Regions from separate parts of the Homo sapiens genome. Here region 2 is linked to region 1. The links are contacts of gene promoters, found by promoter capture Hi-C in human tissues and cell types (Jung and others, 2019). All regions are on one chromosome and are shown on one strand. The core of a region is centred on a gene start or on the middle of the fragment in contact, and the rest is flanking DNA. Distances in the headings are between cores, read along the strand shown.

What was found. The method cuts DNA at HindIII sites, captures the fragments that hold promoters and counts their contacts. A contact is called where the count stands out against the background at its distance.
Region 2: a fragment that was not itself captured here is called in contact with the fragment with the promoter of UGDH in region 1 in 1 of the 25 tissues and cell types used here (mesendoderm cells).

What each region holds. Positions count from the first base shown.
Region 1 is chr4:39,525,920-39,530,310 of GRCh38, forward strand. It overlaps UGDH (UDP-glucose 6-dehydrogenase), which reads right to left and starts at 1,520. Exons shown (of 12, transcript NM_003359.4): 1 at 1,364-1,520. UGDH-AS1 (UGDH antisense RNA 1) reads left to right here and starts at 1,920. Exons shown (of 5, transcript NR_047679.1): 1 at 1,920-2,419. RefSeq lists silencers at 1,235-1,414, 1,665-1,964 and an enhancer at 2,345-2,404. The HindIII fragment of the contact is 14,033 bases long and covers 1-4,391 here.
Region 2 is chr4:40,070,534-40,075,231 of GRCh38, forward strand. It overlaps N4BP2 (NEDD4 binding protein 2), which reads left to right. Exons shown (of 18, transcript NM_018177.6): 2 at 2,922-3,018. Among named protein-coding and RNA genes, the nearest start is that of N4BP2, 16 kb to the left of the region's middle. The HindIII fragment of the contact is 4,840 bases long and covers 934-4,698 here.

The DNA.
Region 1 (4,391 bases), core at 270-2,769:
TATTTTGGGAGAGTCACAACAAACCAAACCGTTCCAAAACTACTCTTCATGTAAAATTTCATAAATTCAAATAAACATTCCAACCCAGAAGGGGTCACTAACAAATAACAAATGCCCTACTACAATCTAAACGGAATATAATCCTTCTAGCCCCAGCTCTCTACAGCATATTTTGCATAGGTACCCAGGAGCTAACGATGGGCATTATAGTTGGATACATCAGCTTCACACATTTTAATCATTTCCAGAAATTAAACAGTAAAAGATGCCTGACCAGAGAAAAATATTTAATCAGTAAGAAAGCCGGTATTAATTTTATGTCTAAGGGTTATCATGTAAAGCTGTGGAAGTAAACAAGAAGGAAGATGGATTATGCTTATCCAGTTATAGATTTTGTTAGAAAAAGGAGTACAGCAACGGGAGAAGAAATGAGATCTTTTCAATCAGGGTTGTCTACCCCTTACCTTAAACTGGATCCTGGCCACTAATAAGCACATCTCAGAGCAGACAGTCAGCTCTTTCATTTCCAGAACCCCCCTGAAGAAAGACTACTGTTCTCCATTTCTTAAGGGATTTGAAGAAACTCAAAGGCTCACTGTGTCTTTGAGGTCTGTCGATAGACAGCTACTGCTCTGTATGCCCATGAATAGATCCCTACCAGCGAACCCCTCTTTTCTCTATACTAGAATTCCTAACCCTACTAAGTTATCTTCCTATATATTTATAGGACGTATAATTTTTCAAGATCTCACACAAACATGGTCTCCCGAGGCACCCAGGAAAGGCCTTCCCCGACATCAAACAGAGCAATTCTGTGGTGTAGGGGGCCAACAATGGATTCCAGGACATCCCGGACAGATATCACGGCAGTCTTAGTATTTTGCTCTCAAGAGGGCTTTCTGGCTTCGTTTCTCTTTGGTTTCTTAAGAGGGGCGGCATGAGAAAAGCAGGAGCCCCTCAGGTGAGCAGACTCTTAAACACAAACAAAAGACTACGACTCTGCGGCCAAAATGAGGTCCCCAACGAGAGAACCGCTTCCTGTGGTGGGCGTTCGGCTTTGGAGGCGGCAGGGAAATCTCATCCAAGTCAGGAAAGTGGGTAAAGGCAGAAAGAGAAGGGGCTGGAAGACTCACGAGTCTTGAATAAGAAGCCCAGACGACCACATCCCCAGGACAGCAGTTCCAAAATGCGGTTCCCGCCCTAAGCCCCAAAGAGACGAAGGTCGTGAGACGGGAAGCCCGGGACCCAGCGCAGCGAGCGACCGGGAGCAGCGCGCACACCCCAGCCCCGCTCCCTCCACATCCCGCCCAGACCTGGGAGCATCCCGCCCGGGCGGCGGGGCCAGCCTGGGAGCGGCGCTTACCCACTTCCCAGCAGCAAGCGCAGGGACCGCTCCTATCCCGATCGTTCGGACAGCACCTTCCTACGGGCCGCGCCGCCGCAGCTTCTCCACCCGCGCCCCGCTCGATCTGAGCTCCCTCTCGGCGCACGCCCCTCCCTCAGGCTGCCACGCGTTACACTCTGAGTCCCGGGCCTGAGCCCGTATTTAAAGGCTTTTGCCTGCGAAGGCGGAGGCTTCATTCCCCCGCAGCCAGGCCCTCCTGGATTCTGCCCTCAGCTGCTTCCTAGCTCCCCCTCCCGCTACACAAGGCCCAGGGCCAGGTCCCTATTTCCTTCACGGCTCAGGGGCGGGGAGACTGGGGCTGGTCCTGGCTGGGAGGGCCTGCCCCGCCCCTGGCCTAGCTGGGCAAATCCGCTTTGGCCAGCTCAGCGGCTCCGCCCCTACCGCGAGCGGCGCTGGGCGGGGCTGCGTGCGTGGCGTGTCCGCTGGACCAGGGGACGGGGGCGCGCCGCAGGTGTAGGAGCTTTGCGCGCCTACCTGGCGGTCGTGGGTCGAGGAGGGGTCAAGAATTGTTGTCTAGCAGCCCTCTCCCCGCTGCCCTGTCCTGGCCGAGGCAAAGGCCGCGTGCGCTCCGCGTCTGCCAGGCTTTAGGGCTGCGCGGACACTGGGTGGGTGGTGGGCCGAGGCGACCGGAAGGTCCTGGCCGCCTTTCCGGTCTCCTCAGCACCCTGGAGCGCCGCCCTCGGGTTTCGGTCTCCTGGATCTGCGGGTCGGTCTCGGCGGGCGGATTACTCCTCGCCCACAACCTCGAGGCCCCGGGGTCAACCGCGCCCTCCGGGCCGGCAACCCAGGGTTTAGTCAGATTCCTCCTGACCCACCGCTTCTGGGAAAGAGGCGCCTCCCGTCAGGAGGATGCTGAGTTCCTCATGACTGGACCAGTGAGTGTCCACTCCCTGGTCCCTGGCGAGAGAGGCGGGACCCCCACGCCCTCCTGGCGCTCTTTGCAGAGATGTTCCTCAGGCCCAATCCGGGATTTGGGATGTCTGTGCGTGCTGTGGAGCAGAGAGTTTGCAACATGTAAGTGCCGTGCGTGAGGAAGAGTAAAATTAACCTATGGAGCCTGCTCATTTTTAATGTGGAGGGCAGTTCCGTTCCTTTCTTTCGCCGCTTCGAGGTCATTTTAACACTCAAATCTAACATATAAGAAAAAAAGCCAGGCATAATCATGGCCTTTTATTTCCCTCATTAAGGATTACATCAGGTGACATAAGCCATTTTAACATACATCATGAAGAAAGTGATTAGTAATTTATAAAGGCACATTAAAATACCATATAAATTACGGTTTTCTTGATAGGATCATGATGGTGACTTTAAGAAAGTGGTTGAATGTGGATGAAACAGTTTGCTGTGGATTGTAGCACGTGTGGCAGGATATGTAGGCTTGTTGGTTGGTTGTTTTGAGACGGAGTCTCCCTCTTGTCGCCGAGGCTGGAGTGCAGTGGTGCGATCTCGGCTCACCTCAACCTCCTCCTTCCAGATTCAAACGATTCTCCTGCCTCAGCCTCCCGAGTAGCTGGGATTACAGGCGCCCACAACCATGCCCGGCTAATTTTTATATTTTTAATAGAGACCGGGTTTTGCTATGTTGACCAGGCTGGTCTCAAACTCCTGACCTCAGGTGATCCGCCCGTCTCGGCCTCCCAAAGTGCTGGGATTACAGGTGTGAGCCACTGTGCCTGGCCAGTATATGTAGGCTTTCTGCATTCTATGCAGTTCAGTTCATTCATCCAACAAATATTTAATGCCTGTTGTGTGTCAGACGTTATCCTAAAGACTGAAGATGCAAAAGGGATTAAGACTCAATTCCTTTGGCCAGGCACGGTGGTTTACGCCTGTAATCCCAGCACTTTGGGAGGCCATAGCGGGCGGATCACCTGAGGTCAGGAGTTCCAGACCAGCCTGGCCAACATGGTGAAACCCCGGCTCCACTAAAAATACAAAAAGTTAGCCGGGTGAGGCGGTGGGCACCTGTAATCCCAGCTGCTCAGGAGGCTCCCTGTTGCAGTGAGCCGAGATCACACCACTGCCCTGCAGCCTGGGGAACAGAACGAGACACTGTCTCAGAAAAATAACCAAACAAAAAAGACTCATTTCCTTCTTGCAAAGCTCACAGGTTGGGTAGAAGAGATATGTAAACAAGTAATTGCACTAGATATGACAAGTACATCTTTTTGAACATACATAGATTTAAGTTATCTAATACAGTTTGCTTTGTAATAAAAACCACTTATCTTAGTCCCTTCATTTTGAATTCAACATTTTTCTATTTAGTATTCACCTCACATTCTTTTTTAGTATTTTGGTAGAATCAGACTCTTCAAAACGGTTAATAGGATTTCAGAAATTAAGTCAATTTTCAGTGCCAGCTAGAATGGACCTTTGGATTTAGGACAGAGGTTCTCCAAATGTGAGCTGGGGACTGTAGACAATCTCCGAGGTTCTTTCTGGGATCCATGAGGTCAAAAAGTTTTCATGTGTTACTTGCTTTTTTCACTCTTGTTCTCTCAGAAGTGTACAATGAAGTTTTGTGGAGACTATAATGTGCTATCAAAGCAAATAGAATTAAGCTGTTTTTTAAGTCAGATATTAGAGATTTACAAAAATGTAAAACAATGCCAATCTTATCTTTTGTTTTTAAAATATAGTAATTTTTCATTAAAATATGATATTTATGTTAACATGTAATGGGCTTATTGTCAATTTTAAGGAATTAATCTTTTATATATAATTTATCAGTTTTCATTTCTAATATGGTAAATACCAATAGTTACAATCCACATGAAAAAAACTTCTTTGAGTCTTCAATTTTTAAACATGCCAAGGGGTCTTGATACTACAAACTTTGAGAACTGCCAAGGTAGGCTAGTTATTTTCAAATTATGTTTCATGGAGCCCTGAATCCTCTGGTAGTGTGTCAGAAATCTGTGAGGATAGAGAATCAGTAGGAAGTTAAAGACAAGGCTCTGGGTTCCCACATCTCCCCGTC
Region 2 (4,698 bases), core at 2,104-4,603, 550 kb after region 1:
GACCTCCCAGGCTCAAGCCATTCTCCTGCCTCAGCCTCCTGGAGTGGCTGGGGGCTACAGGCACATACCACCATGACTGGCTAATTTTTGTATTTTTTGTAGAGATGTGGTCTTGCCATGTTGCCCAGGCTGGTCTTAAACTTGTAGTCTCAAGTGATCCTCCTGCCTTGGCCTCGCAAAGTGCTGGGATTACAGGCATGTGACCTGATTCCCTGATACATGCTACTTATACTATATTCAGATTTCCTGAGTTGTTCCAAAAATGTTTTTGATTGCTGTGTGGTGTTTTTTTTTCTTCTTTTTTTTTTTGAGAGGAAGTCTTGCTCTATCACCCAGGCTGGAGTGCAGTGGCGTGATCTTCGCTCACTGCAACCTCCTTCTCCTGAGTTCATGCAGTTCTCTTGCCTCAGCCTCCTAAATAGCTGGGATTACAGGTGTCCGCCACCATGCCTGGCTAATTTTTGTATTTTTAGTGGAGACGGGGTTTCACCATGTTGGCCAGGCTGGTGTTTTTTTTTTAAATGCCAGATTTCAGTCAAGAACTACCCGTTGCATTTGGGTTGTAATCTTGAGTCTTTTTAAATATATAGGTAGAACTGTCTCTTCTACCCATCCACCTCCTTCTCTACTCTGCCTCTCCTTCCCTACTCTGCCTCTCCTTCCCTGTGGTATTGACCTGTTAGGTCTGTTGAGACGATTACATTTTGTATTGCTGCTTGTTTCCTCATGGTGTAGTATTACTTCTTCCTCTATCCCCTATATTTATTTCCTGTAAACTGGGAGTTAGATCTAAAGGTGTGAGTAGACTTAGGTTAAACAGTTTTGGAAGAGTATCTCATTTAGTAATGCTGTGTACTTCCTACTGTTTCTAGTTAAGAGGCATATAATGTCAGGTCCCACTATTTTGATGCTGTATTTGATCACCAAGCTAATGTGGTGAGAACCTGATCATTTCATTATAAAGTTATGGTTTTCTTTTTGCTTCTAGCAAGTAGTAATCTATAGGGTGGTACTTTGACATCAGGTAAATTTTTTATTTTTTATTTTTTTGAGACGGAGTTTTGCTCTTGTTGCCCAGGCTGGAGTGCAATGGTGCGATCTCGGCTCACTGCAACCTCTGTCTCTTGGGTTCAGGTGATTCTCCTGCCTCAGCCTCCCGAGTAGCTGGGACTACAGGCTCTCGCCACCACGCCCAGCTAATTATGTATTTTTAGTAGAGACGAAGTTTCGCCATATTGGCCAGGCTGGTCTTGAACTCCTGACCTCAGGTGATCCTCCTGCCTTGGCCTCCCAAAGTGCTGGGATTATAGGTGTGAGCCACTGCCCCCGGCCTCAAATTTCTTTTTTTAAAAAACATTTTTATTTTATTTTATTTTATTTTTTGACTTTTTGGAGACAGAGACTCACTCTGTCACCCAGGCTGGAGTGCAGTGGCACAATCTCAGCTCACTGCAACCTCTGCCTCCCGGGTTCAAGCGATTCTCATGCGTCAGCCTCCTGAGTAAGCTGGGACTACAAGCATTTGCCACTATGCCTGGCTAATTTTTTTTTTCTTTTTTGAGATGGAGTCTCCTTCTGTCACCCAAGCTGGAGTGCGGTGGCACAATCTCAGCTCACTGCAATCTCCGCCTTCCGGGTTCAAGTGATTCTTGTGCGTCAGCCTCCTGAGTAAGCTGAGACTACAGGCGTGTGCCACTATGCCTGGCTAATTTTTTTTTTTTTTTTTTTTTTGATATGGAGTCTCACTTTGTCGCCAGGCTGGAGTTCAGTGGCGTGATCTTGGCTCACTGCAACCTTCGACTCCCTGGTTCAAGCAATTCTCCTGCCTCAGCCTCCTGAGTAGCTGGGATTATAGGCACGTGCCACCATGCCCAGCTAATTTTTGTATTTTTAGTAGAGATGGGGTTTCGCCATGTTTGCCAGGATGGTCTTGATCTCCTGACCTCGTGATCCACCCACCTCGGCCTCCCAACGTGCTGGGATTACAGGCGTGAGCCACCGCGCTCGGCCCACCTGGCTAATTTTTGTAATTTTAGTAGAGATGAGGTTTCATCACGTTGCCCTGGCTGGTCTCCAACTCCTGAGCTCAGGCAATCCCTCCCTGTACCCCCCCAGGCCTCCCAAAGTAATAGGACTACACTCGTGAGCTACCACTCCCGGCCCCAGATAAATTTCTTTCTTTTATTTTTGTGGGACTTTTTTTTTTTTTTGGGACAGAGCCTCTCTCTGTTGCCCACGCTGGACTGCAATGGTGCCATCTCGGCTCACTGCAATCTCTGCCTCCCAGGTGATTCTCCTGTCTCAGCCTCCCTCCTGAGTAGCTGGGATTACAGGTGTGCACCACCATGCCCAGCTAATTTTTATTTTTAGCAGAGACGGGGTCTCACCATGTTGGCCAGGCTGGTCTCAAACTCCTGACCTCAAGTAATCCACCCACCTTGGCCTCCAAAGTGTTGGGATTACAGGTGTGAGCCACCGCACCTGGCCAGGTCAATTTCTTTACCAACTTTTCACCTAATGATTTTAGCATTCATTGATGATTCTTGATTAGCTATTTAATTATTGGTTAAAAAATGGTAATTAGTTTTGGGTTCTGTTGTTCCTTATACATTTAGTAGCTAGCCACCTTCTATAAAGATAAGGTTTCTCTCATCAACTAAGGCTATTTTGTTACCTGGAATTAGTGTTCTACTTAAAGGCAGAATAGATGCTTAGTTACTTTCTTTTATACAGACTTTTTCAGAGTGCAATAGTCACCTCCAGTGGCAATAAGTGCAGTCTTTCTTGTCTTTTCTCTTTTGTCACTTTCTTTTTGGAATATCATATATATTATAAATATTATAGACATTTTTGACTTTGATTTCTTTTGTGATTATAGTTTGATGTGAATTTGACTTTAATATATAACTTTCCTTTCATAGTAAGAAGACATGTTGGATAACAAGAAGAGGTGTAGAGTTTGCATATATCAACTGTGGCCTTAATGAGCATGTTGACAGCATCGATGCTAGACAGACAGTAAGTGTTATTAAAGTTGTAGAGTATGAATATTTTACACATAAGATTTTTTTTTTTTTTTAAATTGAGTCTTGCTGTATCACCTAAGCTGAAGTACAGTGGCGCAATCTTGACTCACTTCAGCCTCAAACTGCTAGGCTCAAGCGATTCTCTCACCTCAGCCTCCCGAGTAGCTGGGACTACAGGTGCATGCCACCACACCCAGCTAATTTTTGTATTTTTTGGTAGAGATGGTTTTTGTTTTTGTTTTGTTTTTTTGAGGTGGAGTTTCATTCTTGTTGCCCAGGCTGTAGTGCAATGGCATGATCTCAGCTCACTGCAACCTCTGCTTCCCAGGTTTAAGCGATTCTCCTGCCTCAGCCTCCCAAGTAGCTGGGATTACAGGCGCATGCCACCACATCCAGCTAATTTTTTATTTTTAGTAGAGACAAGTTTTCTCCATGTTGGTCAGGCTGGTCTCAAACTCCCAACCTCAGGTGATCCGCCCGCCTCAGCCTCCCAAAGTACTGGGATTACAGGCGTGAGCCACCGAGCCCTGCTTGTTTTTGCTTTTTTTTGAGATGGAGTGTTGCTCTATTGCTCAGGCTGGAGTGCAGTGGCACGATCTTGGCTCACTGCAACTTCCGTCTCCTGGGTTCATGCAACTCTTCTGCCTCAGCCTCCCAAGTAGCTGGGATTACAGATGTGTGCCACCATGCCCAGCTAATTTTTGTATTTTTAGTAGCGATGGGGTTTCACATATTGGTCAGGCTAGTCTCTTAACCCTTGACCTCAAGTGATCCACCCACTTTGACCTCCCAAAGTGCTGGAATTACAGGCGTGAGCCACCGTGTCTGGCCCAGAGATGGCGTTTTGTCATGTTGCCCAGGCTGGTCTCAAACTCCTTGGCTCAAGTGATCCGCCTGCCTCGGCCTCCCAAAGTGCTGGGACAACAGGTGTGAGCCACCACGCCTGGCCTACACAGGTTTCTAAGCTTTTACTTATATATTTGAGGGACTAAAAAAACACCTCATGAGAAGGAAAATATAATCACAGATTTTGTTACTAGAATTTTCAAAAGAGCTTTCGTGGTATAAGACATGTTGACTGAGGAAGCATAAAGAACTGAATTGTGGTGTTAGTTTTTCTATTTAATGAGTGTTTTCGTTTCTCTGCTTCTTAAAGGCCAGTCTTGGCTGGGCATGGTGCCTCACGCCTGTAATCCCAGCACTTTGGGAGGCTGTGGCAGGCAGATCACTTGAGGCCAGGAGTTTGAGACCAGCCTGGCTAACATGGCAAAACTCCGTCTCCACTAAAAATACAAAAATTAGTGGGACATGTTGGCATGCACCTATAATCCCAGCTACTTGGGAGGCTGAGACATGAGAATTGCTTGAGCCTGGGAGGCAGAGGCTGCAGTGAGCTGAGCTCTTGCCACTGCACTCCAGCCTGGGCGACAGAGTGAGACTCTGTAAAGAAAAAAAAAAAAGTAAATAAATAAAAAATAGGCCAATCTTGCTTCTTCATATTTTACATATTGTTAGCCATCCATAAATATTTGTGCACCTGTTTTATGTGTGGTACTATGCATAGTACCATTTTGGCGTATATATCATGATCCATGTTCTCAAGAAACATTATTAGTTGTAGATATAAACACATATAGATGGAAATTAATAAGTCAGTAATACCGACTGACTC